4 separate regions of the Homo sapiens genome follow, and regions 1, 2 and 3 are each linked to region 4. Evidence: promoter capture Hi-C in human tissues and cell types (Jung and others, 2019). All regions are on one chromosome and are shown on one strand. The core of a region is centred on a gene start or on the middle of the fragment in contact, and the rest is flanking DNA. Distances in the headings are between cores, read along the strand shown. Region 1 overlaps LOC105369572 (a long non-coding RNA gene). Region 2 overlaps LOC399975 (a long non-coding RNA gene). Region 3 holds the start of BARX2 (BARX homeobox 2). Region 4 holds the start of KCNJ5 (potassium inwardly rectifying channel subfamily J member 5).

Region 1 (7,168 bases), core at 3,539-6,038, 410 kb before region 4:
TATCAGACAAGGGCAGCTTTTGTGAAAGACACACTGGTCTTGCTGTGCACAGCTCTCATTTTGCTGGCTGGGTACTTTGCATAATCCTGAGAGTGAGCAACCCCTAAAGCTTACACCCTAGACACCTCGTTTGTCTCACCCCAATCCCAGCTCTGCAAAGTTGCTAGATGGGGAGATATATACATGCAATCTCATTTTTCATTGCTTCGGGATATTTAAGGCACATTCCTAATCACTTTATTTGAGCTGCAGTGAAGCCATATTAGAATTTGGAATCTTTGACTCCTATTCTAGAGTTTTCCCTCCATACTAATGCTCCCAGAGGCACTGAAACCCAGCATCCATACACAAACGATGCATTTAGCTACAACGGTAAAAAGTTCACACTTTTTTCTAAAAGTTCTCTGTGTTTTGAAACACATTTCAAGGAGGCAAAACATGGGGTTTTGAGTTTTCACCCAAGGGGCCCAATACCTTGGTGATATAGTTTGGATGTTTGTTCTCTCCAATATCATGTTGAAATGTGATCCCCACTGTTCGAGGCGGGGCCTGGTGGGAGGTGTTTGGATCATGGAGGCAGATCCTCATGAATGGCTTGGGGACATCCTCCTGGTAATGAGTTACTTCTTGCTCTATGAGTACACGTGAGATCTGGTTGTTTAAAAGAGCCTGGAAGGCCGAGGTGGGCAGATCACAAGGTCAGGAGATTGAGACCATGGTGAAACCTCTACTAAAAATACAAAAAATTAGCCGGGCGTGGTAGCGGATACCTGTAGTCCCAGCTACTTGGGAGGCTGAGGCAGGAGAATGGTGTGAACCCAGGAGGCAGAGCTTGCAGTGAGCCAAGATCGCACCACTGCACTCCAGCCTGGGCAACAGAGCGAGACTCCGTCTCAAAAAAAAAAAAAAAAAAGAGCCTGGAACTTCCTCCCTCTCTCTCTTGCTCTCCCTTTTGCCATGTGACACACAGGCTCCCCTTCACCTTCCAACATAATTGGAAGCTTCCTGAGGCCTCACCAGAAGCAGATGGTGACATGATGCTTTGTGTACAGCCTGCAGAACCATGAGCCAAATAAGTCTCTTTTCTTTATAAATTACTCTCTCTCAGGTATTCAGTGGAATAGCTGATATTTATAGCAATGGAAACCGACTAACACACTTGGCTAATCTAGGTGTTTCCCCCATCCTATTTCTCTGCGTCACTAACTAACGTTACCTGTGCACCTGAACACTGCTTTTCCCAGTAGAAAAGGGCAGGTGGGCGAGCCGTGTACCTGTTTATGAGGCTGTCTTAGGAAAGCCTTTCTCAAATGATGTGCAAGTTCTGTTAGCAGTTCCGCATCCAGCCTCACCAAACCTGCTTTGCTTCAGGCACTGATGCCTTCAATCCATAGGCTCAACACTACATTCTCAAGCTAGTGCAGACCAAGTTAGGCAAGAGAAAAATTGTAGGTCTTTCTGTCCTAGTCTTGGCGTTCACTTTCTCAGAGGTGAGGCCCCAGGCAACCACATATCCCCAAGGCTACAGTCTCCTTCCCTTCTTCCTACGTGCTTAAAATGACTATTTTCCTCGTTTTCATACCAGTTCTACTTCTGGAGCGCCACCTGTTGTGAAGCCCTGTCCTTTAGTGGGGCCCCAATCACAGTATCTCTTGCTAGATCCTTCTTTCGAGGGGCTGGACTTTGCTCTCGCCACCCCCAGCCCCCTTGCTGAGATCCTGATTCATCCATTCCTATCATCTGGAATACCTGCTGCCTCCCTGATGTCAACCATCTTCAGCATGTCTCCACTGCCTGTCCCCAGTTTATGTCTGGATTTATGCCCAGTTCAGCCGGGGATTTTCCATGCAGCGCTGCTCCCTAGTTTAGACTGTGGGCTCTTTCTGTGGGCCATGGTACTGCTGGGGTGCTTTCTGTTGGCTGTCTTACCCCATGATCATTTAAATCAAACTGACTACACATCACAGCCTGCTGTTTCTTGAGAAAAAAATTGCTCGAATCCCACTTCCATCCACACCCTACATTCTTGGCTATCTATTCTGACTGTAATTCCTGCCTTTGGCACTGCCCAAATCTGGCAGTCTTCCTTTCTCCGTCCTCTTTGGACCTTGGCTCTCCTCCCCACTTTCTGGCTGGTTCACCGTTCTTCCTGGTATTCTCACTGTCTCAGGGGAGAGGTCTGTATCATGCTTCCTGGCCCCTCAGAAATCCTCATTTCTTCTTCTGGTCAGCCCTTGTCATGTCTCAGTCCTCGGTCTTCCATCTTCTAACTCCCACTATGGTTTGAAACCTACTTTTGTGCATTAACAGGAGCATGATGCATGGGTAGGTTGCTTAACTTAAAGAGTCAGGAGGGAGAAGAGGGCAACTTTTAGTTTTGGCCTCATCTCAGCCCAATTTCCTCCTCCTTCCTCATGGACAAGTCCATTTTTGACTATTTAAAAACCTGTAGCGGCCAGGATCAGTGGCTCATGCCTGTAATTGCAGCACTTTGGGAGACCGAGGCAGGTGGATCACCTGTGGTTAGGAGTTCAAGACCAGCCTGGCCAACATGGTGAAACCCCGTCTCTACTAAAAATACAAAATTAGCCTTGCATGGTGGTGCACACCTGTAATCCCAGCTACTTGGGAGGCTGAGACAGGAGAATCACTTGAACCCGGGAGGCCAAGGTTGCAGTGAGCCGAGATCGCGCCATTGCACTCCAGCCTGGGCAAAAAGAGTGAAACGCCATCTTAGAATAAATAAATAAAAACCTGTAGCAAATATGCAACCATATATTCAGTTATATGCATATTTAAAAAAATGAACCCTAAACCCAACTATTTGCTTATCCTCCCATAAATTTAATTTTTGGTTGAGAAAACATAATCACTGAAGGTGTATGTGGCAGAGACTGTGCAATCGAATCCTGTACACGTCCTCCAATGTCCCAGCAGCCTCCCTTGCAGTTAGGTGATGTAAACTATGGCTGTAAGTATCTTCTTCATCCCTCTCTCCCGCTGCAGTGACCTTGATAGCTACAAGTGGAGATGGATCTTTGAGCTATCAGATGGAAGGCTGTCTCTGCAGACCCACACTGGATTCTACATAAATAAGAAGTATAAGTGTAACTTCGTTGTGCTAAGTCACTGAGCTTTTCGGATTTGTTTGTTATTGCAGCATAGCTTAACATTGCTCTGACTAATGCCATATACAAACCTTAAACATGTGCAAGGGTTTATTTCTTCATCTGCCCACACCCAAGAATTGCTTTCCTAAAAACTTAAAATGTATATAAATTATATGTGTTTATTATGGAAAATTATGAAATACAAATAAACAGAAAAGAAGAAAGTAAAAATCATCTATAATCCTCTTGGTCAGAGTTATCTACTGTTAACATTTTCATGTCTACACATCATGTTTTTTCTATGTATATAGAAATATAAATTTATGTATATATGCACATAAACTTATATGTGTGTTTACATATTATTGTAGAACCTACTTTTTTTTGAGAGAGGAAGAGAGCGTCTCTCTCTGTCACCCAGGCTGGAGTGTAATAGAGTGAGCACAGCTCACTGCAGCTTCGACTGTCTGGTCTCAAGCAATCTTCCCGCCTCAGCCTCTTGAGTAGCTGAGATAGCTGAGACTACAGGCATGCACCACCATACCCGGCTAATTTTTGTATTTTTTGTAGAGATGGGGTCTTGCCATGTTGCCAAGGCAACTTCTGGGCTCAAGCTGTCCGCCCGCCTCGGCCTCCCAGAGTGCTGGGATTACAGGCGTGAGCCACTGCGCCTGGCCACAACCTACTTTTTTATTTGACAAAATATTCTGTTAATTTTCTCAAAGCAATAAATACTATTCTAGAACTCAATTTTTTTAATTTTTTTTTCTGAGACAGAGTCTTGCTCTGTCGGCCAGGCTAGAGTGCAGTGGTGCGATTTCACTGTAACCTCCCCCTCCCGGGTTCAAGCAATTCTCCTGCCTCAGCCTCCTGAGTAGGTAGGATTACAGGCTTATGCCACACATGCCAGGCTAATTTTTGTATTTTTAGTAGAGACAGGGTTTCACCATGTTGGCCGGGCTGGTCTAGAACTCCTGACCTCATGATCCACCCGCCTCAGCCTCCCAACATGCTGGGATTACAGGTGTGAGCCACCGCGCCCAGCCTAGAACACAATTGTTAATCATTGCATAGCACTGCATTATGACAGCACCATGATTTATATACTGTTAGACAGTCTACTATTTTCTTCTACTGAAATTGCTGCAGTAACATTTCTACTTCTTTTCTACATATTTTATCACTTACTTCCTCTCCTACTCACAGACCAACTCTTAATCATCGACATTCATAGAATGCAAATGAGGTAATCCAAAAATAATAAAAATGTTCATGAAATTCACAGTGTGATCATTTGGATGGGGAAGGAAGAGGCAAAGTTTTTGCAGTGCATTCATCCTCATAATCGTAATGACGATTATCAAATTTTGGGTTTCATTCTGTGTAGTAATAACTGACTTGGCGGTTGCAAAGGAGATGGTACAGTAGGTAACAATAGGAAGCTGCTTTAATTAGCATTCCATGAGGCTGCAAGAAACAAAAACAACAATGAACTCAAACTTATAGTAGCTTAAACAAAGACAGAAGCTTATTTCACTCTCAGATAAAAGTCTGGAGATAGACATCCCCATATCGCACTCCCTGGGGTATCAGAGACTCAAGCTTCTCCTACTTATTCCCTGTGGATTTTTTCCATTCCCAAGGTCACTGAGCAAGATCTGAAATGATTGCTCTAACTTAAACCATCACATCTATATTCCACCCAGAGTAGAGGATGTAAAGAAAGACGAAGAGAATGTCTCTTCTAAAACGCATTTTTTTGGAGGTTGAACATACCAAGTCTAGTTAGACACTTGGCCATATGTGGGTCCAAGGGAGGCTGGGAAATGTTGTCTTTATTCTGAGTGTCCCTGTGCCCAGATAAAAATTGGGGATGCTGGGCCGGGCGTGGTGGCTCACGCCTGTGATGCCAGAACTTTGGGAGACCGAGGCAGGTGGATCACTTGAGATCAGGAGTTTGAGACCAGCCTGACCAAGATGGTGAAAGCCCTTCTCTACTAAAAATACAAAATGAGCTGGGCATGGTGGTACACGCTTGTAATCCCAGCTACTCGGGAGGCTGAAGCAGGAGAATTGCTTGAACCCAGGAGGTGGAGGTTGCAGTGAGCCAAGATGGCATTATTGCACTCCAGCCTGGGTGACAGAGTAAGACTCCATCTCAAAAAAAAAAAAAAAAAAAAAAAAAATTGGGGATGCTCTTGCAATAGGAGAAGGGAAGAACGGATATTGGGTGACAACCACATATCGCTGACATAAGAACCACCAGGTGACTTATAATGCCCACAGGTAAATAATTCAATCCAGCTTCTGATGGAGGAGGATCCAACAAAAGGAAAATATCTATTACATCAACAATAAAATGTAATCAAATTTTCACAATGAACAGATGGACTAAAAAAAAATACACATTCGGTACTTTAATTCCTGCTGGATTTCTGAAATCAGCCAGCTCCTTCTGAATGAACATGTGCTAAAGAGAAGGGCAGCTGATAACCTCTTGAGCATCTTAATTAGCACTGGATTTCATCAGAATGGTGCTGTGTAATACATCAGAAGCTGAGCACAGCAGATTCCAGAACACCTAGGTCTAACTGCCAAGTCCCTCAAATAAAGCAAGTGAGAAGAGCAGGCCATATACGTAGGGGGAGAAAGCTAGTCACCTTCACGCTTCCAAGCTTTTGCTCTCGTGGCTTCAGCTCCCTAGAATCCGTTGTCTCTTCTCTATGTGAAGAAGTGCTGCTCTGCCTTCTCATTATTTATTTATTTATTTTTTTTTTTGAGATGGAGTCTCGCTCTGTCGCACAGGCTGGAGTGCAGTGGTACCGTCTCGGCTCACTGCAACCTCCGCCTCCCGAGTTCATGCCATTCTCCTGCCTCAGCCTCCCAAGTAGCTGGGACTACAGGCGCCCGCCACCACACCTGGCTAATTTTTTGTATTTTTAGTGGAGACGGGGTTTTACTGTGTTAGCCAGGATGGTCTTGATCTCCTGACCTCATGATCGGCCCGCCTCAGCCTCCCAAAGTGCTGGGATTACAGGTGTGAGCCACTGTGCCCGGCCTCTTCCTTCTCATTCTTGAAGAAACTAGTCAAATATTTCTTGGGATGCCTGTTCTTTGACCCTTTAGTTTTGTGTGTCATTCATTCATTCATTCATTCATCAAATACTGATAGAATCTACCATGTACCAGGCAATGTACTAGGCATTGTGGGGTGGAGTGGGGAGACTCAAGGACAAACTAGTTAAGACTGTGGCCTCAGGCTGCATATAACACTAATTCAATTAGATTTGTTTAGTCAGACAGCCCAGCACACTGGGGCAAGGGCTAGTAGCCCCGATATGCTGTGCTCTCTGACTAAACAAAGAATAGATAGCTCCAAGAGGGCAGAAACCTGGTATTTTAATTAGCACATATTTACAGAGCTCTCACTATGTGCCAAGCACCTTTCTGCTCTATGTGCTTAGAGTATATTACTCTTCTAAATCTTACGACAATCCGTGAGTGTGTACCCATCCTCACCCTATTTTGCAGATGGTGAAACTGAAGCATACACAGGTTAAGTAATTTGCCTAAGGACATGTGGCTAGGAAGCAGTGAATGTAAAACTGAATACAAGGAGACTGGCCCTAGCGTGCATGCCTAACTCATATTCTTCACTTCTTTACTATTCACACTTTTCTGCATTTCCAGTATTGAATAGGATGCCTGGGATCTCGTGGTTATTCAGTAAACGTATGTTGAATGGAAGTGAGCTGGCTGCTCAACACTGGCCAAGTTATCCTCTCTGAGCCATAATTCCTACAAAGATAAAAAGAAGTTAGACTGGAAGACCTCTACGATCCCTTGAAATTCTCAACTATGGAATTGTAATTTTTTTCCTTATTCATAGCCTAAATAATCTTTTAGCTGAGGCCGGGAAGAGATCTTGTGGGATCATATGTGGAATTCTGGATTTTAGCCAGACTTCCTCCATAGTAACTAGGTGAGAATTCTTTTAGTTTATCAAATCCTTTAAGATGTCCCACCTTTTTGAAGCTAAGTAGTAGGTGATTCACAGA
Region 2 (6,586 bases), core at 99-2,598, 380 kb before region 4:
AGCTCGGCCTGCAGAGCCTCAAGTATTTATTATCTGGTTCTTTAAAAGAAAAGTTTTCCAACCCCCGATTTAGGACTTAACTTTTTTTTTTACTTTAATTAGCATATGTGCTATTTCCTATCATAGCCATTATAAGGTTAAGAATCCTGGAAAGGTACTAATTTTTGTTTTGGAGCCAGATAGACTTGAGTTCACATACCAGCTATGATATTTATAAACATTGATCCTGGACAAACTAATTAATGTCGTGGGACCTCAGAGATTTCCTTTGTGACCAGGGAATATCAGTAGTATCTACCTTGGAAGGTTGTAGTGAGGATTAAATGAAATGGTACATATTAAGGCTTAACACAATCTCTGACATACAGTAAGCACTCAGTAAGTGATAGATGATGATGATTAGAAACTCTAACCTGAAAGTATGCCTAAAATATTTTATATTACCATCACCTCCAGATTATAGAGTTATTTTCCTGAGTGTTATGCTGTTTGCTATAGAATTTTCTCCTTTGCTGAAACTTAGTTAACAGCTGATAAGCGGAATAACTTGAGAAATTTCCTGTATGCTGTAGTGTATTTTTATTAATCACTTGCTGACTTCAGATCATTAAGAATGGGTGGAAAGATACTTCTGTTTTTTATAGATCCTGATTCTTGATAATTTCCCGATAATGTTCTTAAGTTTATAAATTGGATTTAAATACCACTTCTATTTTGGTACTGGTACTGGCTTTTTTTTTTTTTTAGAAAGATGAATGAGAAAAGTCGGTTTTGATTAGGCCAGGGTTGGATAATTTTCCCCATATGTATATGTACTCTAAAGTCTTCCTTATGATTTGCATTAACATCTTTATGGCATGCTTCTCAGAGTTGAAATAATAAAAGCTAATTTTTTTTTTCTAAATAGATCTAGTTTACTATCCAGAGACTTTTATATTACACTGCTTTTTGAAGTATTTGATTTAAATTATCTTACAGTTGAGAAATTTGGTGTGCCTCTCAACTTCAAATGCTGGTTTATTAACATTAATCTCAAACTAAGAGTGAGCAAATAAAAAAGGCCATTGTTCTGAGTTAAACAAAATAGAATTGGGGTCATTGTGGCTCTTGCAGTTCTACAAACTGTACAGTTTCTTGGCCTTAGCTGATGCTTCAGTGAAGTGAGATGATCCAGAGGAGACAGGGGAGGGCACTGATGTTCCCACGCTGTCCTCGGTGGAACAGTGAGATGGAGGCAGAAGGGCTCTTCCACAAAACCAGGGAACAGCACCTGGAAAGGTGTTCTGATTATAGCACCTCAAAAAAAGTAGACCTAAAGAAGATGAGATGCGACAGAGTTTTCTCTTGAGGTTAAAAAACAAACCAAACCAGACGTTTCCTATCTGGAGAGATGAAGCTTGAGCAGGAATATTCCCCAAGGTAGTAAAGTGTAAGGATTTTATAAAGTAGATATTTTCAGTTTTACTGGACAAGGGAGGGCTAGTCTTGTATTTAAAGGAGATTGTTGTAGGACAAGTAAGAGGAAGTGAGAAATGGGTGTTTGGTTTAATTTCTCATGAGAAAAACATGAATCTGAATGTTCAGAATAGAAGTAAAATTCTGGCTTTCAAAACACAGTTGTTTTTTTTTTTTTGCTTCCGGCTATGTATCTATTTACTATTTTATTTTATATCCTGGATTATAATATACATAATATTGGAGGCTGTGGAGATGGAAAGCATTGAGAGGAAAAGCATGTGTGAACCATTCATTATGGAAATGTTATGTCCAATTTGTCTCTGTTTGAAAAGATAAGCATCATACTCTAGGAGAGAATCTTCTAGAAAATTCTATCAGTTTGCCCTAAAAATAGTAAAATCCTTATTTGGATTTCAGCCTTGTGATGTGAAGCAAGCCATTTGACTCCACTGCTTTTATTCCCTGTGTGTAGCATGGAAACAGTAATTCCTGTTCCTCCTTTCATTGGAGAAATATAGGTGGTTGAAGGACTCTTAAGATGAGTAGCATCTTCAGTAGCTGTGCAGAATATATCATGTGAAGTTCAGTAATTACCCAGGATATCAAACACAGACCAAAAAAGTGAAGCAACTTTTAACAGGAAAATGAGTTTTGAACCTGGAGTCAAGAGGACCTGGATGTTTGTCTTGGCTCTGTTGTAAACAGCTTGTGACTTTGGACAAGTAATTTCTGTCTCCAAAGGTCCAGTTTCCATTGACCTACCTAAGGAGAATCTGACAGACCTTCCTTCTTGTTTTATATTCAGTGGCCCTCCAGATTAAGTAGGAATAGCAATCCTGACACAGTAGGATAAGGGAAACCACATCTCTTTGTATCTGTGAACTGACAAGTATCCACTGAGTACATCTGTGTGTCTCCTGCCATGCTTCAAGCAGTGGAAGATAGATAGGTAAGAAGGTGTCATTGAGTCTTTGCCCTCAGGAGGTGTTCATTTCATGGGGAGACAAACTATTTTATGAAAAGGAATATTATAAGTAAGCAAGGAGATAGTGGAATGATCTGGCAGTTTGAGGACTTGTGATGTACTATTGGAGAGGATACTTTGTAGCCTTGTGACCTTGAACATGTAAAATGGGCTTTGTAGACTCCCTCCAACTCTGAAATTTGGTCATTCTGTCTTTGATGGAGAAGCAGCAGCTCTGAATCAACCTGTTGGTAGACAACCCAAGTAAGAACTGCTCAATTAAAGCCAGATTTTTACACACATTCTGCGTAATTGATTTAGTAGATGGAAGGAAAGGTTTACTTTAATTTACTAGAAATGCAATCAACGGATAACCCTTCTGAAAAATAAAGCGTGCGAGAAGTGACAAGAGACCAAAGTGAGCTTGTTCCTGAGGCAGTACATTTGTGCCTGGATCTCATTTCTTCTTGCCTACAGGTCTTCTATTCTAGCAGTTTTCTTTCCTAAGATATCATTCTCTCTTTACTGAATCCTCTTTCAGTTAGCATCCATGCCTTTTGTTACTTGCAGCAGTGATAGCTAGTTGTCTACCCAATGCCATTCTCTGTGGCTTCCTTTTAGTATATAGGATCCTCAGGGTTTATCTGGGCACATGTTGGCCCAGCTAGAAACTGCATTTCCTAGCTTCTCTTTTATAGTTGGATGTGGACTAAATTCTGGCTAAATGGATGTGGACATAAGTGGTATGTGTGATTTCTGGGTTGTAGCCTTAGAAAGGAAGCTAATCGTTTTCTATTTTCTCTTTATCCCCTTTTGCAGATGAGAGTGTAGGATGTTAATGCACTGATGGGGCATATTATTCAACCTGCAAAGGTGAGGGCAATACCTTAGCGGGGGATGGATGAATAAGATGGATTTTTAGATGATCTTGTGGAGCAGAACTGCCTCCTAGCCTTGTACTTCTCATTTATCTTTGGGTGGTTAGGTGAGAGAGGAATAAAGTTTTATCTCTTGAGCTACTGATGCCTTAAATGAATAAATCACACCTTTTAAACCACCTTTACCTTGGGATCCCCTTCATTTACATTTATTGTCCTTTTTTTGTTTCCTTTTGCAGCAGAAATTTCAAGAGTTGTTTATATTTGCTGTACCTTCTTCTTCACCAGTGATTCTTTAGCCTGATCATTTGAGCTCATCATATGAATTACTCTTCCTGCCAGTGACTTCTTCCTCTCTCTCCCCCAAGTCTTTACCATTTCAGTAAGTGGCATCATCAGCCACCACTTGTGCAGGCCAGAACCCCTGGAGTCATCCTTATCCTTGATTTCTTTTTTTAATTGCACTCCAATGAAATTGTTTTTAATCAAGACTGCAGTGACCTGGATCTTGCCAAAGCTAGTGGTCAGTTCAATGTTTGTATCTTATTTGACCTCTCTCACCAGCATTTCACAGTGGCCAACTTTACTAGTTTTGACCTCTTAGTTGTTCATTCTCATTTTCTATATGCTTTTGCCAGTTTATCTCTACTTTCCCACTCCTTGAAAATTTGGAATGTCCCTCAGGTGATTTCATCCAATTTTTGGTTTCAAATACCATTTATATGCCGATGAGGCTCAAATTCTTATTTCTAGTACTGACTTTTTTCCCCCTTGCGCTCTAGACTCTTGTAACTCCATGCCTCTCCTTGGATGTCTAATGGATACCTCAAAGGCAGCATGAACAAAGGAGGGCTATGAATTACTCTTCCTGTTGGTGACTTCTTCCTCTACCTCCCCCAAGTCTTTACCATCTCAGTAAGTGGCATCATCATCCACCACTTGCGCAGGCCAGAACCCCGGATTCTTCCTCCTCCTTGATTTCTTTTTTTCCTCCTCATCTCATGTTAAGTCTGGTCACCTCCACCTTTATAATATAAACCGAACCTGACTACATCTCACTTTTTTCACTGGCAAAAACCTAGGCTAGGCTAGGCTAGTAGGCTTTGTCGTCTGGCAAACTGCCAGCAGACTTCCCTGCTTCTACTCCTGTCCTTGTCCTTCCCCTCATTCTTACCATACACGGGAGCCAAAATAATGTTAAACGTTAATCAGATCGTATCATTCTGCTTACTGGCTTTCCAATATACTTAATGCTAAAACAAAAACTTAACATTTTACCGTGGAAATAAACCCTTCATTTTGGTCGCTTATGAGGCTCCATATCAGTGGTTCTTAACCAGGGAAGATTTTCCCCTCAGGTGATGTCTGGAGACATTCTTGGTTGTCACAAATTGGGGTAGGTTGCCACTGGCATCTAGTGGGTAGAGGCCAAAGTGGCTGCTAAACATCCAACATCCAGTAATGCACAGGACAACTCCCAGCAGCAAAAAATTATGTGGTCCAAAATGTTTGTAATGTGTGATATGGCTCCTGGCTGCTTCTCTGCTCTCATCTTCTGCTCTCTCTTCTTTTCTTCTTTGTTCACTGAGCCACAGTCTCAGTGATGTTCCTTTTTTTTTTTAAGTAGACTATTTTTACGTTCACAGCAAAACCGAGCTAAAGGTGCAGAAGTTTCCTGTATACCCCTTGTCTTTACACATATGCAGCTTCCCCCATTATCAGCATCCCACATCAGAGTCGCATATTTGTTACAGTTGATGAGCCTACATTGAAACATCATTATCACCCGAAGTCCATAGGTTACATTAGGATTCACTCATTTTTCCCACTTGTTCTGAGAGGAGAAAAAAAAAAAAGACTGACTCTTGGTGTTGTACCTTCTATGGATTTGGACAAATTAATAATGACATGTATCCACATCATAGTATCTTATAGAGTAGTTTGACTCTGCTGAAAATCATCTGTGATTTGGCTATTCATCCCTCCCTCTCCCCAGCCCCTGTCAACCACCAGCCTTTTTACTGTTTCCATACTTTTGCCTTTTCCAGAATGTCATATAGTTAGAATCATAGAGTATGTAGCCTCTTCAGACTAGCTTCTTTCACTTAGGATAAACATTTAAGTTTCTTCCCTGTCTTTTCGTGGCTTGATTGTTCATTTCTTTTTTATTGCTGAGTAATATTCCATTGTCTGGATATACTACAGTTTATTTATTCATTCACCTGCTGAAGGACATCCTAGTTGCTCCTAAGTTTTGGCAGCTCTGGATAAAGTTGCTACAAGCATCTGGGTGTGGTTTTTTTTTTTTAATAAGTAAGTTTTCATCTTGTGTAAATACCTAAGCATGCGATTGCGGGATCATATGTTAAGAATAAGTTTAGTTTTGCAAGAAACTGCAACACTGTCTTCCCAAGTGGCTGTGCCATTTTACAACCTCACCAATAGTGAATGAGAGTTCCTGTTGTCCCACATCCTTGTCCACATTTGGTGTTGTCAGTGTTTTAAATTTTGGCCATACTTATGGGTGTGTGGTATATGACATTGTTTCTTCCCTTTGAATAAAAGCACGTTCTGTCTTAGGGATTTGTGTTTGCTGTTCCTTTTACTTAAAATGACTTATTTTTAATTTTTTTTAGAGACAGGGTTTTACTCTGTCACCCAGGATGGAGTGATCATAGCTCGTTGTAACCTCGAACTCCTGGGCTCAGGTGATCCTCCTACGTCAGCCTTCCAAGGAGCTAAGACTATAGGTGCGTGCCACTGTGCCGGGCTAATTTTTGTAATTTTTGTAGAGACGAAGTCTCTCTATGTTGTCCAGGCTGGTGTCAAACTCTTGGGTTCAAAGGATCCACCTGCCTCAGCCTCTCAAAGTGTTGGGATTATAGGCGTGAGTTATGGCGCCTGGCCATGTACTTCTTTTAAGTCTCGTCATGGCTGCCTTCGTCCTCTCCCAGAGAGACCATCATGATTACCTGTATATGTAGCACCCCCACCTCTTTCTTTTATATCATCCCATTTTGTCTTCTTCATATTCATTTATTATTTGCTTATTTGTTTAATTAATTAATTAATTTATTTTTCGAGAGAGGGCCTCATTTTGTCACCCAGGCTGGAGTGCAGTGGTGCGATCTCAGCTCACTGAAGCCTCGACTTACTGGGCTCAAGCAGTCCTCCCACCTTAGCCCCCAAGTAGCTGGAATTACAGGTGTGCACCACCACGTCTGGCTAATTTTTGTATTTTTAAATAGAGATGGGGTTTCACCGTGTTGCCCAGGCTGGTCTCGAA
Region 3 (7,456 bases), core at 2,388-4,887, 480 kb before region 4:
ATATCCTAAAATGCACCTCTCTTTTGGCCTTTGTAATGACGGTCAATGCTCTGAAGTTGGAGAGCTCATCGCTGATTTCTAAATGGCATTACACTGCCTTCTGAGTAGGGATTACTGTTTACAGATTTAAGAATAAAACCAACTTTTTATATACTAACTTAATTCTAAGCATATTCCACCCCTCACCAATGGCCTGAATGACACAACTCTTTTCAAATGGAGGCATTCTTTTGGGCTTAGCTGTTTAAATTTTAGTTTAAATGTGATGATAAACCGTTCTGTGGTGAGGCTTACAGGGAAAGGATTCCCTTTTGCAGTGTCTATTAGGATGATTTACGAGACGTACTAGGAAACCGAGAGAAATTTAGAGACATCTTTCCAAGACTAAAATTATTGTGTTTATAATAAGAAAGCGTCTGTTAAACAACAATTTTTGGAAGGTGAGGATTCCATCAAGGCTAGAATGTCGAACAATAAATTCCTGTCAGGTGATTATCTGCCTGAGATGAAAACTATTCCCATTTCTCAGTTTGCTTGAATACATGCTATTCTGCCTGATATTTGGTACCATAAATTGACCTTTAGGTTACTAAATCCACAGAGCATGAACTGTTTCATTATGCAGTGTTTTTTTTTTTTTTAATGCTGTAGTTTTCTTTCCATCCCAATTTTATGCACTTATTGTACATGCTGGTAACTTTTTAATTTTGAGGCCTTTTTTTTCTCTTAGTTTTCATTATTTTACCTGACACAGTTCACTTCTGTTACACGTCTTTAAATCTTAAATCAGCAAATGAAAGGCTGAGAAAGTTCAGTAACTTTAATTCCAATGTATGCCTTTCACTTGAACTTTTTATGCATTGCTTCCACCACCAGTGCTCAACATTTAGTTCCATCTAGCAAAAAAAAAAAAAAAAAAAAGAAAAAGAAAAGAAAAGAAGAAAATTACAGTGTCCTTTGGGATGCCAGCAACTTATTGTTGTTGTTTTTAATTAATAAGAAAAAAGATTACATTCATCTAATCAAAGATTTTTGTCCTGACCTTAACTGTTAAAAACAAAAATGCTTTGAAAGTATGGTATTTGCAAAACCCCTGAGAAGACACTAATGGGATTCCCATGATCTAATACATGTAAGGCTTTAACTGTAACTGTAAACCCACTGAAGGCTTATGATCTGAAAGTATGAACTATTGTAGCCAGTTTTTATGGGTTTAATTCCACCAGCAAATCCCAGTTTCTATATTTTAATTCTCAACTAGAGCAAAATAACGACACATTTTCAACTAACAATCCGAAAGAAGAAAGTACTGGAATAACGGAGCCAGAAAACCATTGCCAACAGCCACCCTCTACCACGAACCATCAGTGAACTTCGAAAAGCACAAGACTGAGCAACACTTAAGTCTGTGAAATACGTGCATTTCACTTATAACACTCACAAAACTACATATGAATCATTTTTTTTTCCTCTGATTTATTTCCCACACAAGGTTCAATAAAACACGACACTTACTCAGCCACCTCTGACTGAATGACTATTCTCTGCAGCTATTTATTACTCCTCTTCTGCCACGTTTTCTTCTATGATCCAATTCTGTGACTCCTATAAGCCAGGAAAAGCTGCCTTCAAGTCAACACAGCACAAAGTCACTGAAAATTCTGCCGGCACTAGGCTCTACCTAGGTGCTTAGAAGTTGTTCTGTTTTGTCCTGGGAATGTCCCATACGCAATGTTAATGACTGAAACAGATCCTCTCTTTTTCCTCGAAGGGAATTGAGTTATTATAACAAAGGATGATTTGTGCTCAAAACAATATTCAACTTATCACCCCTATTCAGTATGTATGTGTCCAAGGGTCCACAACCACCTATACACAAATGTAAAAATATCAGTTCTCAGGAGATCTATCTTGTTTCTAAAATTTCTTATTTGTTCCTTGTTTCATATATTTCTTGGTTTTAAAAATTCAGTATTACAAGGCTTGTTATGGGACATCAGGCCTAATTCTACCTTACAGACAAATTAACTTTAAAAAGGCATAACTGAATACAGTATACATTTTACAACCAAATACATGTAGGAACAATTTGGTTTTAAAAGAACTTCACTGTATGTATTTATCATATGTTTACTGATTGTCATATAGGGACTATCAATGGAACCAAGAGAAAATACAGGATTCCACGCATTGAGCATTAACAACTCAAATGTTCCAAAAAATATCTTCCAAAACTGTTGGCCCTTCATTTTTTCATTTTAAGTGTAATTTAATTTATCTCATGCCTCTCATGCAACTAACAATCTCAAAGGTTCTTTTGGTTTGGAAATACTTTATGCTTACCTTTAATGGAAAGCACACTCAATAACTTTTTTCTGATAAAAAGTGCTCCTACTTCTTTTTCGTTTTATTATACCCATGTTCCATAACCTAAATCCTAACAATGCCGAGATACTTTGAAACTTGGATCTTCTCTTAATGCATTCAAAATTTTAAAAGTACCTTGGATTTATTTTCGATAGAAACTCTACTACGTTTTCAATATATGTATTAAGTTCTCTTTATCTTTACTATTGCTCTTACCTCCCGTGAAGAGAGAAAACCAGGTGTGAGTAATGTTTTCATTGTTACCATTGCTGGTTTTGGTCACTTAAGACAAACGAGGGTGACCTTTTCGGCTTGACTTAAGACAAACGAGGGTGACCTTTTCGGCTTGTGCCACAAAGACAATGTACTTCAGAACTACTTTCTCAGAGGGCGATCATTGTAAGCAAAGCTCAGTGAATTCGAGATTTTGTTGAGAACCTCAGGATACTGATTTACTTGCAAAATTCACAGTGGAGACAGTAGGAGGCTGGACAAGTTAACTCAAGGTGAGATGCAAGGCCGCCAAGCTCAAGTTTGAAATTCACACACACCACCACTTCCTGAAACAACGATTTAGACGCTGAACCTGCTCAAGTGTTTGAACTTTCAGCAGGAAACGAGGAAGCGTTCTCCTCCGAGCAGGACAATCAGGCGTTGCGCGAGCAGCCCACTCCTAAGGCCCTGCCGCCTTTATTTCCACTCGTGCCATCCACACCTTGCGTGGTCCTTCCCGGCCACGTCGCAGATGCCTTTGCAATGCCCACCGCTTGCTGAGGCGCAGGAAAAGAATCCCTTAACTTAACCCTTCCTCTCGCCCTCGGATCGCAAAGCACAGGCCACCTACACGGACGTGAAAGCTACCGAACCCCACTTATCCCCTAGCGGAGCGTCTTACCCGTACAGGAATGCAGGGGCTTGGGTCGCACGACCAGCGACGGGCACACGGAGTAGAGGGAAAGTTTCTCAAAGTAATCGCAGGTCTCCTTGGAGAGGATCTCGTCGATCATGAAAGTCTTGTAGCGCCGCCTGGCTGCTTTGAGCTGGCCGGGCGAGCTCAGCCTCAGCTCGGCGTGGCAGTGCATGGTGAGCCGGCGCGAGCGTCCGCCGGCCCGAGCGCGGCTGCGAGTGCCCGGCCCGCTGGGGCCGCGGGGCTGGCGCGACGGCGGGGCCTGGGCCCCGCTCCCGGCAGCTGGGGAGGCGGCGGGGCTCGGGTGGCGCGCGGAGGAGAGCGGGTAGCGGGCGCGCCTGCCGCGCGTCTAGACCCACCCGCAGATCAGCATCTTCGCTGAGCCTTTTTGGGACAACGCAGCTGTCAATCAGCGCGAGCTTCCTGCAGGGCCGGGTGCGGAGTGTGTGCTGAGGGGCGTCCGCGCCCACCCCGCCCCCGCCCGCCCGTGCCACTCCGGCGCCGACCTGCGCGCCTAGTGCCCGGCGGCTCTCAGTCGCTGCCTCCCGCTCTGGTGTCTCGCGCTCCTCTGCCTGGCTCTCTATTTTAAGACGCTCGTTTTGGCTCTCCTCCCCCTCCCCCCCGGGACGCGCTCCAGGTGTGTGTGCAGGAGTGTGCGCGCGGTGCGGGGAGCGCGCACCGCCCCAGCCCGCGGCCAAGGCCCAGGCCGGTAGCTCCCCGGGGCAGTGTTCCCCATGAGCACCTTACTGCCTGTCCTGCCACCCGCCGGCCCGGCTCCCAGTGTCCGCAGCCCAGCGGGAGGGCACGTTCAGGTCTCTTACTAGAAAGAAGTCTAGTCCTCACTAGGCTCCCGGGACTTCGGGCCACAGAGCCAGTGCCCCCGAGGACCCACCGTGCCTTTCTCCTTCCCCGCGTGGACGGTTTCCCGAAGACCGCGGCTTCCCAAGCCCTCCACTCGCAGTCTCGCAGCCCGCGCTGAGCCTGCGCGCTCCGAGCGTAAGACTTTTGAGCTGAAGTTGCAAACTTGACTGCCCCAAGATCCCAAATCATAAATGACCCTGGCCCCGTCCGTTACCCTCATAAAAAACTGAGAAAAAAAAAAAGATAAGAAAAGAAAAACTAATAAAAGTGTGAGTTATCGCCGGGCGCGGTGGCTCAAGCCTGTAATCCCAACATTTGGGAGGCCGACGTGAGACGATAGCTTGAGGTCAGAGGTTCGAGACCAGCCTGGTCAATATAGGGAGACCCTGTCTTTACAAAAGAAAAATTAAAAACAGGCATGGTGGTGCACGCCTGTAGTCCCAGCTACTGGAGAGGTTGAGGCAAGAGGAAACCTGTAGTCCCAGCTATTGGAGAGGTTTAGGCAGGAGGAAATCTTGAGCCCAGGAGTTCGCGGCTGCAGTGAGCCGGGATCTCGTCACTGCACTCCAGCCTGGGCGACAAGAGCGAGATTCTGACTTTTTAAAAAAGTGTGCGGTTTTTTTTAAAACATTGTTTATAAAAACATTTTTTCCTCGTTGGAAAGGGTCAGAGCTGCACGATTCTAGGGAGCCGGCGGGCACTGGGGCAGCCTGTCCCATGCGGGCTTCTCCCAGCGCCCGAGTCTTCCGGCAAAGGGGCTTTCAATATCCGGATCCCTCGCGATACGACCGGGTTAGAGAGTCGCGAAGACAGGCGTTTATTGGGTGATTTGCCTTTTTCTTTCCAGGCTCTTAGTCTTAGGGTCTGTTCCAATCAAAATCTGTACGGACTTTAGTTGTTCATTGGAATTGCTGCGTAAAGGGGACCCCGCCGAGCCTCCGCGCCCGGGAAGCCTCCGGCAGCCTGAGTCGCGCCCGGTGTTCGGCGGGAACAGCCCAGTGCACGCCCGTTTCCACGACTTTATGTTGGAATGAGTGTGCATGGGGTTGGAAGGAAAACGCACGACAGGGACACTGAGAAGTATAGACGCGGATGGCCTTCCCTAGGGCCGAGTTTGGGGCCGGTGACATTTCCTCCCCGCTCCCAGCCTAGAAGCGTCCGCGAGTGCCGGCGGGCTCTCTGCGGAGCTGCTTGCCCAGGGGGCCCTGGTGGCCGCGGAAGCAAGTAAATGAGGGCGCCTGGGCCGGTGATTAAACTAGGAGGGAGGGACACGCCCAGAGGACTAATCATTAGGCTGTTAGAGAAAATAGATTTTTTCTTTTTTTTTTGAGACCGAGCCTCACTCTGTCGCCCAGGCTGGAGTGCAGTGGCGTGATCTCGCCTCATTGCAACCTCTGCCCCCCAGGTTCAAGCGATTCTCCTGCCTCAGTCTCCCGAGAAGCTGGGATTACAGGCGCCTGTCACCGCGCCCGGCTAACTTTTGTATTTTTTAGTAGAGACCAGGTTTCACCATCTTGGCCAGGCTGGTCTTGAACTCCTGACCTCGTGATTCACCCGCTTCGCCTCCCAAAGTGCTGGGATTACAGGCGTGAGAAAATAGATGTTAAGAGGCCAAGTCACAGCCTAGCATTAGACAAGGCCCGCAACGCGTCTTTGAGGAACTTCATTCCCGAAGTATTTGCAAACTGGCCTCCCCTCCCCTCCTCTCCATCTAGAATTGTTTTCTTTCATTCTCTTTCTCCATGCAGAGGCGGCTGCAGGGCAGGCGAGAACTGCTGCCAGGTGTCCGGGTGGCGCCGGGGGTCCTGCCGCCGGACTCTGGGGTCTACAGGCTGGCCCCAGGCGCGCCCCCTGCTTCCGCGGCGGGACCCTGAGGCTGGTCCGCGGTCAAAGCGCGGGACCCGGGACAGCTCACCGCTCAGCCCTGGCATCGCCGTCCGACGCCACGACGGAGGGGGTTCTCCCGGGCGCAAGCCGAGAGGGAAACCGCTGCGCCGAGTCGGGGCTGGGTCCCAGGGGCTCAGCGTTCGCTCCCGGGGCAATGCCGGGCGGGGAGCTTTAGGCGCCCCGAGGAAAGTGAGCCGCTGGTAGGCAGCCGCCAGTAAACTGAGTGCTTGCGGGCGATCTCACCCGCAGCGCCGACTACGAGGCGGGCTTGGAGCTGGGGACCAGCACCTGAGCGACAGCACCAGGACCCGACGCCCGACGAGGGGCCGAGCGCGTCGCGTCTATACTTTCTATCTGCCCGGCGTGTGCCCACAGAATGCGGCACTATTCGGGGCCCCGACTTTGCATTGCTCTTCTTTTCCTTAACCTCTTTTCTTCTCTCTGGTTCTTCCCCTTCCTTCCACCGCCACTGACTCCTCTCCTCTTCTTCCCTCCCACTTCTCCCTTCCCCGCATTGCTCCCCGCCCTTTGGGCCTCTCCTCCTCTGTCGAATTTCCCGCTTCTGTTTTCTCTCTTCTGCCCTCCCTTCTCCCCATCGTTCATCCTTGTTTTCTCTCTCTCTTTTTAACTTCCCTTCTCCTCCTCTCCTTCTTCCCTTTTTCCAAACCCGGGTCTGGACTCGCGTTCGCGTGTTCCTGGTCGCGGTGCTGCCCCTCGGAAGGCTGCAGGCGGCTCACGCGCAGGGACAGAGCCCAAGCCCGGGAGGGACCGGCCTCGCCTTGGCTGGCCGCGTCGCCCAGCGCTCTCACTCCTCTCCGCTTCCACTCGGCCACAGGCACAAAACTCACAAAATCCAGACACTCCCGCAGACGAGTTCTTTGATTTGAAATCTGCAGTGTTTTAATAGGTGAAGAAGTAAAAATTCCAATTCACCTCCTTGGATTTTCCATCTTTTCTATTTCGCGCTACAGAGGCAAGAAATCTCAGAAGGGGTCTGCGGGCACAAGTCCCCTGTGCAGTGGAGAGGGAGAGATGCCCGATCTTGGAGTCTAGAGCCTTGCGCTCTCTTTTGCTCCCTAAGCTGAGCCTCAGTTTTTTCATTTGTAAATGGTGACCACAAAACCTACTTCACAAGGATGGGCTTTCATAATCCATGCCTTTATACAAGTTTGTTCCCTTTCACTGGAATGCCCTTTACATCCTATCCCCTCCTTCTCTGCCCCAAAACCTAGAGACTTATCTCAAATGTCACCTCCTTTGTGAAGTGTCTCCCCACTCCCCAAGGCTGCCGATTCCTACTTCTGTGGTGGCATATCCTATACTGTATTGTCTTTTGCATGTTTATTTCACTCACTGGACAATGACCAGGTGGGCCTACGCCCTATGTTATATTATTCATTTGTATCACCAATACCCATAAAGCACACAGTGGGT
Region 4 (7,299 bases), core at 4,388-6,887:
AAAGATGCAGAGAAACTGGATCACTGATACAGTGTTGGTGGGAGTGTAAAGTGGCATAGTCACAATGGAAAACAGCTGGACAGTTCTTCGAAAAAAAATAAAAAAAACTAAACATACAACTACCAGATGACCCATCAATTACACTTCTGGGCATTTATCCCAGAGACATGAAAACCTGTATACCTATGTTCACACAAGAACCAGTACACAAATGCTTATAGCAACTTTATTCATAATAGTCCCAAAGTGAAAACATCCCAGATGTCATTCAGTAAGTGAATGGTTAAACAAGCAATGGTACCTTCCCACTATGGACGATTCCCACTGTGGTACATTCCCGCTACTCAGCAATAAAAAAACCACACACACACACACACACACACACCCCCAACAAGCACACATGCACACTCCTAAATGAATCCCCAGAGAATTTTGTTGAGTGAAAAAAGCCAATCCCAAAAGATTACATACTGTATAATTCTACTTACATAACATTCTTGAGATGACAAACACAGACCAGTGGTTGCCAGAGGTTAAGGAGAGGGTGGGGTGGGATGGAAGTGGGTGTGGCTATAATAGGGCCACATAAGAGGTCCTCCTGGTGATGGAAATGTTGTTTTCTTATTGGCTATGTATTCGTTTTGATAGTGTACTACAGTTTTGCAAAATATTACCGCTGAGAGAAACTGGATGAAGGGAATGGCAGATCTCTGTTCATTATTTCTGAAACTGCATGTGAATCTATAATGATCTCAAAATCAAAGCATTTAGTGGAAAAATAAAGAATGACTGCAGCAGACAAAGAGATTGAGTTAAAGAAGCATAAATACACTAAACGGCATTTATGATCAAGAGAATGAGTGAAAAAAGACAAAAATGGAGGGGAAAAAAAGAACCAAACTGAGAAAGAGAGAGAGGGAGAGGAAGAGAAAGGAAATAAAATGTGACCAAGCGTGAGTGTCTAGGAGGAGTCAGGGGAGATTGAAAGAGATGCAGGAGAGGTGGTTGGGGCTGGGGGCAGGTGCCCTGGGACAGCCGCAGGCCCAGGCCTCCCTCCTACTGCCCTGTGTCTGGCCTTGGCTCCCTCCTTTCCAAACCCCTCCCTGGGCTCCTTCTACCCCTTCACCAGCAAACCTGTTTCTCAAGCCCCCTTAGAAGCCTTCCCTGCTCCATAAGAGCAGCCTGCCTTCGCCCCGGCGATGCCTGTGCCTCTCCCTAAGGGCGCGCAGCACGGATGCTGGAGTCTCTCCAGCAGCTCTGCCCGCCCCCAGGCAGTGGTCTGAGAGCTCAGAGGGCAGGCAGGCCCGGTGTGGAAGATCCCCCTGTCTAGCTCAGGTGCCTACACAAGGTCTGGCCTGTGTTAGGAGCTCCCTACTCATTTTTGAGGGAGTTCTTCTGGAGAAGGACACTTCACAAAGCAACCTGACTTGGCCGGGGAAGCCTTCATACTGTGATGTCCAGTGGGCTGGTTCCTGGGGCCTGACACCCATGGCTTCTGCTGGCACTGCTGGACAGCCCCCTTGCTGAAGCAGAAGCAGCACCTCCCACTGCCCAGGGTTCCAGGCACCAAGTGCTCAGCAGTGCAGTCATCCCTGGGGTTGGGGGGGGGGTGGGGGCACACTCTAAGGGGAAGACACAGGTTTGGTCCCAGGAGGCATCTGAGGTCCTCTTGGTTCTTGCACTGCACCCCACTCCCATTTTCCTTTCTGAGCAGCAGGAAATAATGTAGGATGATGGCATTGGACCTCCCTGACTGTAAAGTCGGGTGCCTGAAATCTGGGAGAAGGTGTAGGGTGAGCAGTACACCCAGCCCCGGACCGCCAAGTCACAGGGGATGAGAATGAGACTCCAAGTTTGCTCTCTCCTTCCCTCCCCAACCCCTCCATTTCTCCCCCACCCTCACCCTTTCCTGTCCCCCATACTATCTGGCCACCCTATTGATTGATCCCTGGTGACCAGGAAGTGCCGTTGCCACCTGCCAACTGTTCAGATGATCCATGACCTTTGCCCTCAGCTTGCTCTGGCCTGGAACGATAATGGAAGTTAACATTTTAAGCACTAGCCAGGATCTCCAGGGTCACATATTAAAGCTTTGGCTCTACCATTTAACTTAGCACGGCTCTTGGCAAGGGTTCCCGCCATCCTGGGCCCTGTTGACTAGAATAGCTCCCTTATCAGAATGTCAAGGTAGGAGGAACTAGATAAGCTGCTGCTGCACAGGCAGGGCCTTCAGAGGCAGCCGCTCACGCCAGCCCTGGCTGGCAGAATGTCAGAAGTGGAAGCTGTCCACTCTGTTTTAAAACAATTCCAGGGAAAGCCACTTCACAAGTCTTTTTGAGAAATACACTCAGGTATTCTTACTCAAATACCTCACTACAATCTTTTGAACTGGAACTCCCATTCTTCTTGTTTTTTTCTTTAGAAAATAAAAACAAAACACAGAAAGATTCCTTCGTGGCTGACGACTATCTTAACAGTTATCTGATGACAGATCCGCACTTGGAAACACTGCCAGCCCTCAATGACCTGTCTATAGCTCATACACAGTGAACATTTTCATCCAAAAATGGCCCCTTTGAACTACCTATGGATTCCCTGACCCCTGCCTTCTCTCCACCATCCTTCCACCTCCAGCCTAAATAGTCAATCAGTATTGGCTCAGAAAATGTGAGTGTTTGCTAACATTCTCCTAAACAAAAAGCATAACGCTGCCCCAACGATCACATTCCAAGGTTTTCAAAAATTAATGATTGCTGGCACATGATAGGTGACCAAATGAATGGTTGTTGAACAAGAAAAAAAAAAAAAACAATGCAGAAGTGGATGCAGTTTTCAAGTACATGAAAGCACAGGACACCTGTTTGTGGCTTCGCCCACCGCAGGCAGGAAGAATCAGGTCATTTGAAGGGGAAATGGAAACCAGAGAATGGGCATTCTAGTCGTTTCTTCCCTCCTTGGGGGTTTACTTCATCACGGATGACTAGAGCAGCCTTCAGAGTCTCCCAAATTCCTGGACAAGAAACCCAGTCAGGTGCTTGCAGAAAGCCCCAAAGGGATTTTGCTTGGCACCAGGGACAGCGAGGCTGAGTACTGCTGTGACAGGGCCACACACGTGTCTCTGCTGGACCCACAGACAAAGAGCTCTGCACTGCTCAGGACTTGCCAGCAGACTCCAGGGAAGCCATGGTGGGGAACCCCACTAAGATCTGACTTCATCCCAGAGAAGACAGCTAAGCTTTGGGGACAGCCCTGGGCAGAGTGAATGTGGCCCAGGTTCGCTTTGACCCCCCCCCTCACCCTTGGCTCCTCCTTTAGCTGAACTGCTCACTGGATAGAGCACAGGCAGGCTACTTAAAAAATGCTGCCTGTGAGTAATGCCGGCAGTTTATAGCAGCTTTTGGAGAGGCCAGAAAACAGCCATGCCTGAGTGGCTGGTTCCCTTTCTGTTGGAGAGCTAGGTAGTAGGTCTAGAACGTTGTTCTGGGGACAATCCTTGTGCTTTGTGGAATGTATAGGCAAATTTTCTATCCTTTCTTTTTCTTTTTTATTTCTTTTTTTTTTGAGATGGGGTCTTGCTATGTTGCCCCAGTTGGTCTTGAACTCCTGGGCTCAAGTAATCCCCTTACCTCAGCCTCCTGAGCCAGCAATTTCTCTATGTGTTGTTTCCTGTCTTTCAATGGTGGCCCTGCTGCTGCTCTTCCAAGAAGCACATACGCTGTGCCCCAGGCCTCCCACTGAAGGCCTTATGCCTCTAGGCAGAATGGTGCCATCTCAGGTGGGGTCCATAGATAGTTTAAAATACCAGCCAAGCTGACCAAACTCTTTATGCCAGAGTCCAACCATGGGCCTCTAACTCCCACATCATTTGCTCTGCCCTGTTCGTTCCTCAGATTCCAGGAAGCCTGAGCGCCTCATTCAGCCAGATGATGCAATTTACACCTGGCTTTGAGGAAAAGCAGGGATGTGGAAAGACAAGAGCAGCTTTCAGAATTAGCTTTTGTTAGTGGAAAGACCCTGGATTTAAAGCCAGAGGACAAGAGTTTTGGAGATAGCAGTGCTGCTGCCACTTAGTGCCTGGAATTCTGTTACCCTTACTCTCATCTATAAAACAGAAGAAATAAGCTCTGCCCCACAGGACTGGTGTCAAGATGAACTCATGTAAACGTATATAGCTCGGCACCTTGGTTTCATAAATATTAGCCTTTTCCTCACATGGAAAAGTGCTTTGAGAACCAGAAAGCCCGATAAACCATATGGCTTTTGATGAAAACGAGGCACATTTTGGAGTCAGATATAGGAGAGAATCTCCCTTTATGAGCTGTGCACCTGAGGCAAATTGCACAGCCTCTCTGGGCTTCAATTTTTCACCTGTAGAATGAGGATGATAATCTCAGCTTATTAAAAGGATTGAAACAGAGTAAAATACTTGGCGTGTTCCTGTTGATCTTCTTCTGGTGTTTGAAAAGGCTCCTGGAACAGGTTTTGGGCTGGTGTTGCTCACCCTGATGTTCAGGGTAGGCCCTAGAACTTTGGGGGCCGGACCTGAGGCCCTCCACAGCCCCTGGGGTTGGAGAGCCCTGTTTGAGGGAAGGCACAGATAAAACCAGGGGGCCAACAGCTCTGCAGGGAGAAGCACTGACTTGAAGAGAAGGGGAGCAATGACAAGGCCGGCCTTCTCTGTTCCCTATCCTCTGTCCTCACAGGCTTGACCCCTGGCCTTTCTGAACCATTTGAAAGCTCTTTAAAAGGAGATAGGGAGGTACGCAGGAAGTGACTTGGGCAGCGAGGGGGGCAGAAATCACAAGGCCGTGTTTCCAGTTTGGCCACACTTAAAAGAGAAAGCAAGATTAGGCTGGGGATCTAAGGCTGAGGGGGGCACCGCCCCCCATCCTGGCCCTCCCTGCTCCCATTTGAAGGAAGAGTCCTACCAGGTGAAAAATGTCCTCCACACCCCACCCACTCCTGGCCACTGTTGCCTCTCAAACCACTGCTGGGAGATCTGGGGCACCCCCAGGTAGCCCTGGTCTAGTGCCAGAAGTGAAGGTGTTTATGGCTGGGCTCCCAACGCACAGGGCAGCCTGCAGCCACGGAGATCTCCAATTTCCTAAACTTGGACCTGCCCTAAGCTTTTCCTTATCCCCCCTGGCTCCCAGTCTAGCAGGTTCCCTGTGAAAGCCTGCTGCCCAGGTGATGGACACCTGAGGGTGTCATCCTGCCCTCCAGAACCCGCGAGCTGGGGGAGAAATGGAGGAGGAAAAGAAGACAACTTACTTGTTGAGATCGGAGCTTCCGAGTCCCACTGATGCTAACTTCTGGGGTGTCCCTTAGCGGCGGTGCAGGGGGGCTCAGGGCTTTTGAGGGGACTCCCCAGCCCCTGCCATGACCCCACGGAGGAGCTGTAGCTGGAACCTCTCCCTGTTGTGGGGTCCTGTGGGCAGAGGTACCTAAGCCATCCTGTCCCTTCACTCGCGGCCCCTTGGGTCACTCCCTTTCTCTAGCGAGAGCAGCTGGAACAATCTCTCTCTCTCTCTCTCTCTCTCTCTCTCTCTCTGTGTGTGTGTGTGTGTGTGTGTGTGTGTGTGTGTGTGTGTGTGTCCCCTCCTCCCTCTCCTCTCTCCCTCCGTCCCTGGTACAAATGAATCTCTGGGTAGTAACGCGACTGGAAGGGCCACCGGCGTTGGCGGCGGGGGGCGGGCTGGGGTGGGGCGGGGGCTCCATGTGATCCGGGACGCCGTCAGCTCGGCAGGACTGGGAGGGAAGAGGAAGGCGGAGAGAGAGCCCGGCAGGCATCCAGCCCTCCGCTCGCGTCCCCGCGGCCCCCTGCGCCCTCCCCCGGCTCCCCCTGCCCCCGGCTGCACCCCTGCTGCGGGGTGCCAGGGACGGAGACCCGCGCGCGCGCGTGTGAGCGTCCCATGCCTGTGTGTGAGCGCCGCGTGTCACGCGTGTCCGTGTGTGAGCGCCGCGTATTTAGTGGGTGCGGTGGAGCAGACAGAAAGAAGGGAGAAACTATTAGGGCAGAAATCTTGGCTCGGAGCCTCGGCGGGGCTGCTCAGTCGCTCCGCGGTGCGCTAAGCGGACGGTTGGCAGCATTTCGCCGTTTCCCGAGAGGGATGGAGCAGATGGGGGGATTCCTTTGGGAAGGCGGGGGAGCCACAGTCTGGGCGCTGCATCCCCCGCCCGACGGCTCTGATTCCCGCCGTGGAGTGAGGGTCCGGGGGCCTGATCCGCCAGCTGCAGGGGGAGTAGGTCCAGGGACAGGACCCAGGCTAGCTGTCCCCGGGCTCGCTGCTCACCCCGGACGATCTCTCCCCGGCGTGCGGCGGCGGCTGGGCGGCGATGGCTGGAAACGCGCCCTGCACGGACAGGAGGCGGGAGCAGCCCGGAGGGAACGGAGCTCAACCTTGCCCAGGCGTGGGCAGAGCCGGCGTCCTCCGCGCCACCTCCCGGCTCTCCCTTTTGGATTCCTACCTGCCTTGAGGACAGATGATGACCAGAGTGTGTTCTTTAATTCGTGGAAGCCGTAGGAAAGGCAGCTGCCAGGGCAGGCTGAAAGGGAGGGCTGCTGTCTGGGGAGGGCCGGCAGGTGCCTCTGAGGACCGGTCTGTTCGGGGTGGCCCTTCTCACCCGGTGGTGTTCCTTCTGGCCCCTCTCCGTTACCCAGCCTTTTGGGGTCAACACCCCCCCTGCCAGCCCCCTCTCTCAGGGCAGACACAGCTGGTCAAACGTGGGGTGCCCTAGCACCTAGCACAAGTGCTAGGTGAATGATGTCTACGACCAGAAAACTGGTTTATTACGTTGCAATGAGAAAAATGCTTGTCACTAATACTGGAGGGCACCAAGTCCATCCTCTCCTGTAAGGACAGTGACAGGGAAACTTAGTCTCTAACAGTGGCCTGGGGGTCCTCTTGCCTCGGAGACCAGCGTACACACAGCCCGTTGCCCAGGCACCCTCCCCTGGGACAGAGCACAGAGCGGTCCGGCCAGAGTGGGCCTCCTGATTGCCCCTCTTCTCTCTGTAGAGGGGGTGATTGTTAAATGTGGCTGCAACAGGCCCTAACAGGAAAGCTCTGTGTCCCCTTAGGGGACTCAGCTTGCCTAGGTGCTCACGCACTGCACCATATGTTGTTTGACCTCAGGGCTTAACACTATTGTGGAGAAAGTTCTTAATTCCCTAATTGCCTAGTTCTTGGGAGAGGCTTTGGCTGTGCAGTTCTCAGGTCCAGATAACACACACTATAATCATCTGCTGAGCCCTGAGGAGGGGCTCTGTCCTGGGGCAGCAGTTGCTTTTGGATTAGG

What was found. Contacts are between HindIII fragments. The study calls those that stand out against the background at their distance.
Region 1: a fragment that was not itself captured here is called in contact with the fragment with the promoter of KCNJ5 in region 4 in 2 of the 25 tissues and cell types used here (dorsolateral prefrontal cortex and liver).
Region 2: a fragment that was not itself captured here is called in contact with the fragment with the promoter of KCNJ5 in region 4 in 1 of the 25 tissues and cell types used here (pancreas).
Region 3: the fragment with the promoter of BARX2 here is called in contact with the fragment with the promoter of KCNJ5 in region 4 in 1 of the 25 tissues and cell types used here (aorta).

What each region holds. Positions count from the first base shown.
Region 1 is chr11:129,303,346-129,310,513 of GRCh38, reverse strand. LOC105369572 (a long non-coding RNA gene) reads left to right here. Exons shown (of 3, transcript XR_948175.2): 3 at 3,007-3,189. Among named protein-coding and RNA genes, the nearest start is that of BARX2, 69 kb to the left of the region's middle. The HindIII fragment of the contact is 3,938 bases long and covers 2,820-6,757 here.
Region 2 is chr11:129,269,066-129,275,651 of GRCh38, reverse strand. The region is part of intron 1 of LOC399975 (a long non-coding RNA gene); the gene reads left to right. It also overlaps a transcript of ARHGAP32 not described here. Among named protein-coding and RNA genes, the nearest start is that of ARHGAP32, 80 kb to the right of the region's middle. The HindIII fragment of the contact is 6,553 bases long and covers 1-4,624 here.
Region 3 is chr11:129,372,029-129,379,484 of GRCh38, reverse strand. It overlaps BARX2 (BARX homeobox 2), which reads right to left and starts at 3,637. Exons shown (of 4, transcript NM_003658.5): 1 at 3,263-3,637. The coding sequence starts at 3,449. The HindIII fragment of the contact is 19,007 bases long and covers 1-7,456 here.
Region 4 is chr11:128,889,694-128,896,992 of GRCh38, reverse strand. KCNJ5 (potassium inwardly rectifying channel subfamily J member 5) reads right to left here and starts at 5,637. Exons shown (of 3, transcript NM_000890.5): 1 at 5,272-5,637. The HindIII fragment of the contact is 9,287 bases long and covers 4,182-7,299 here.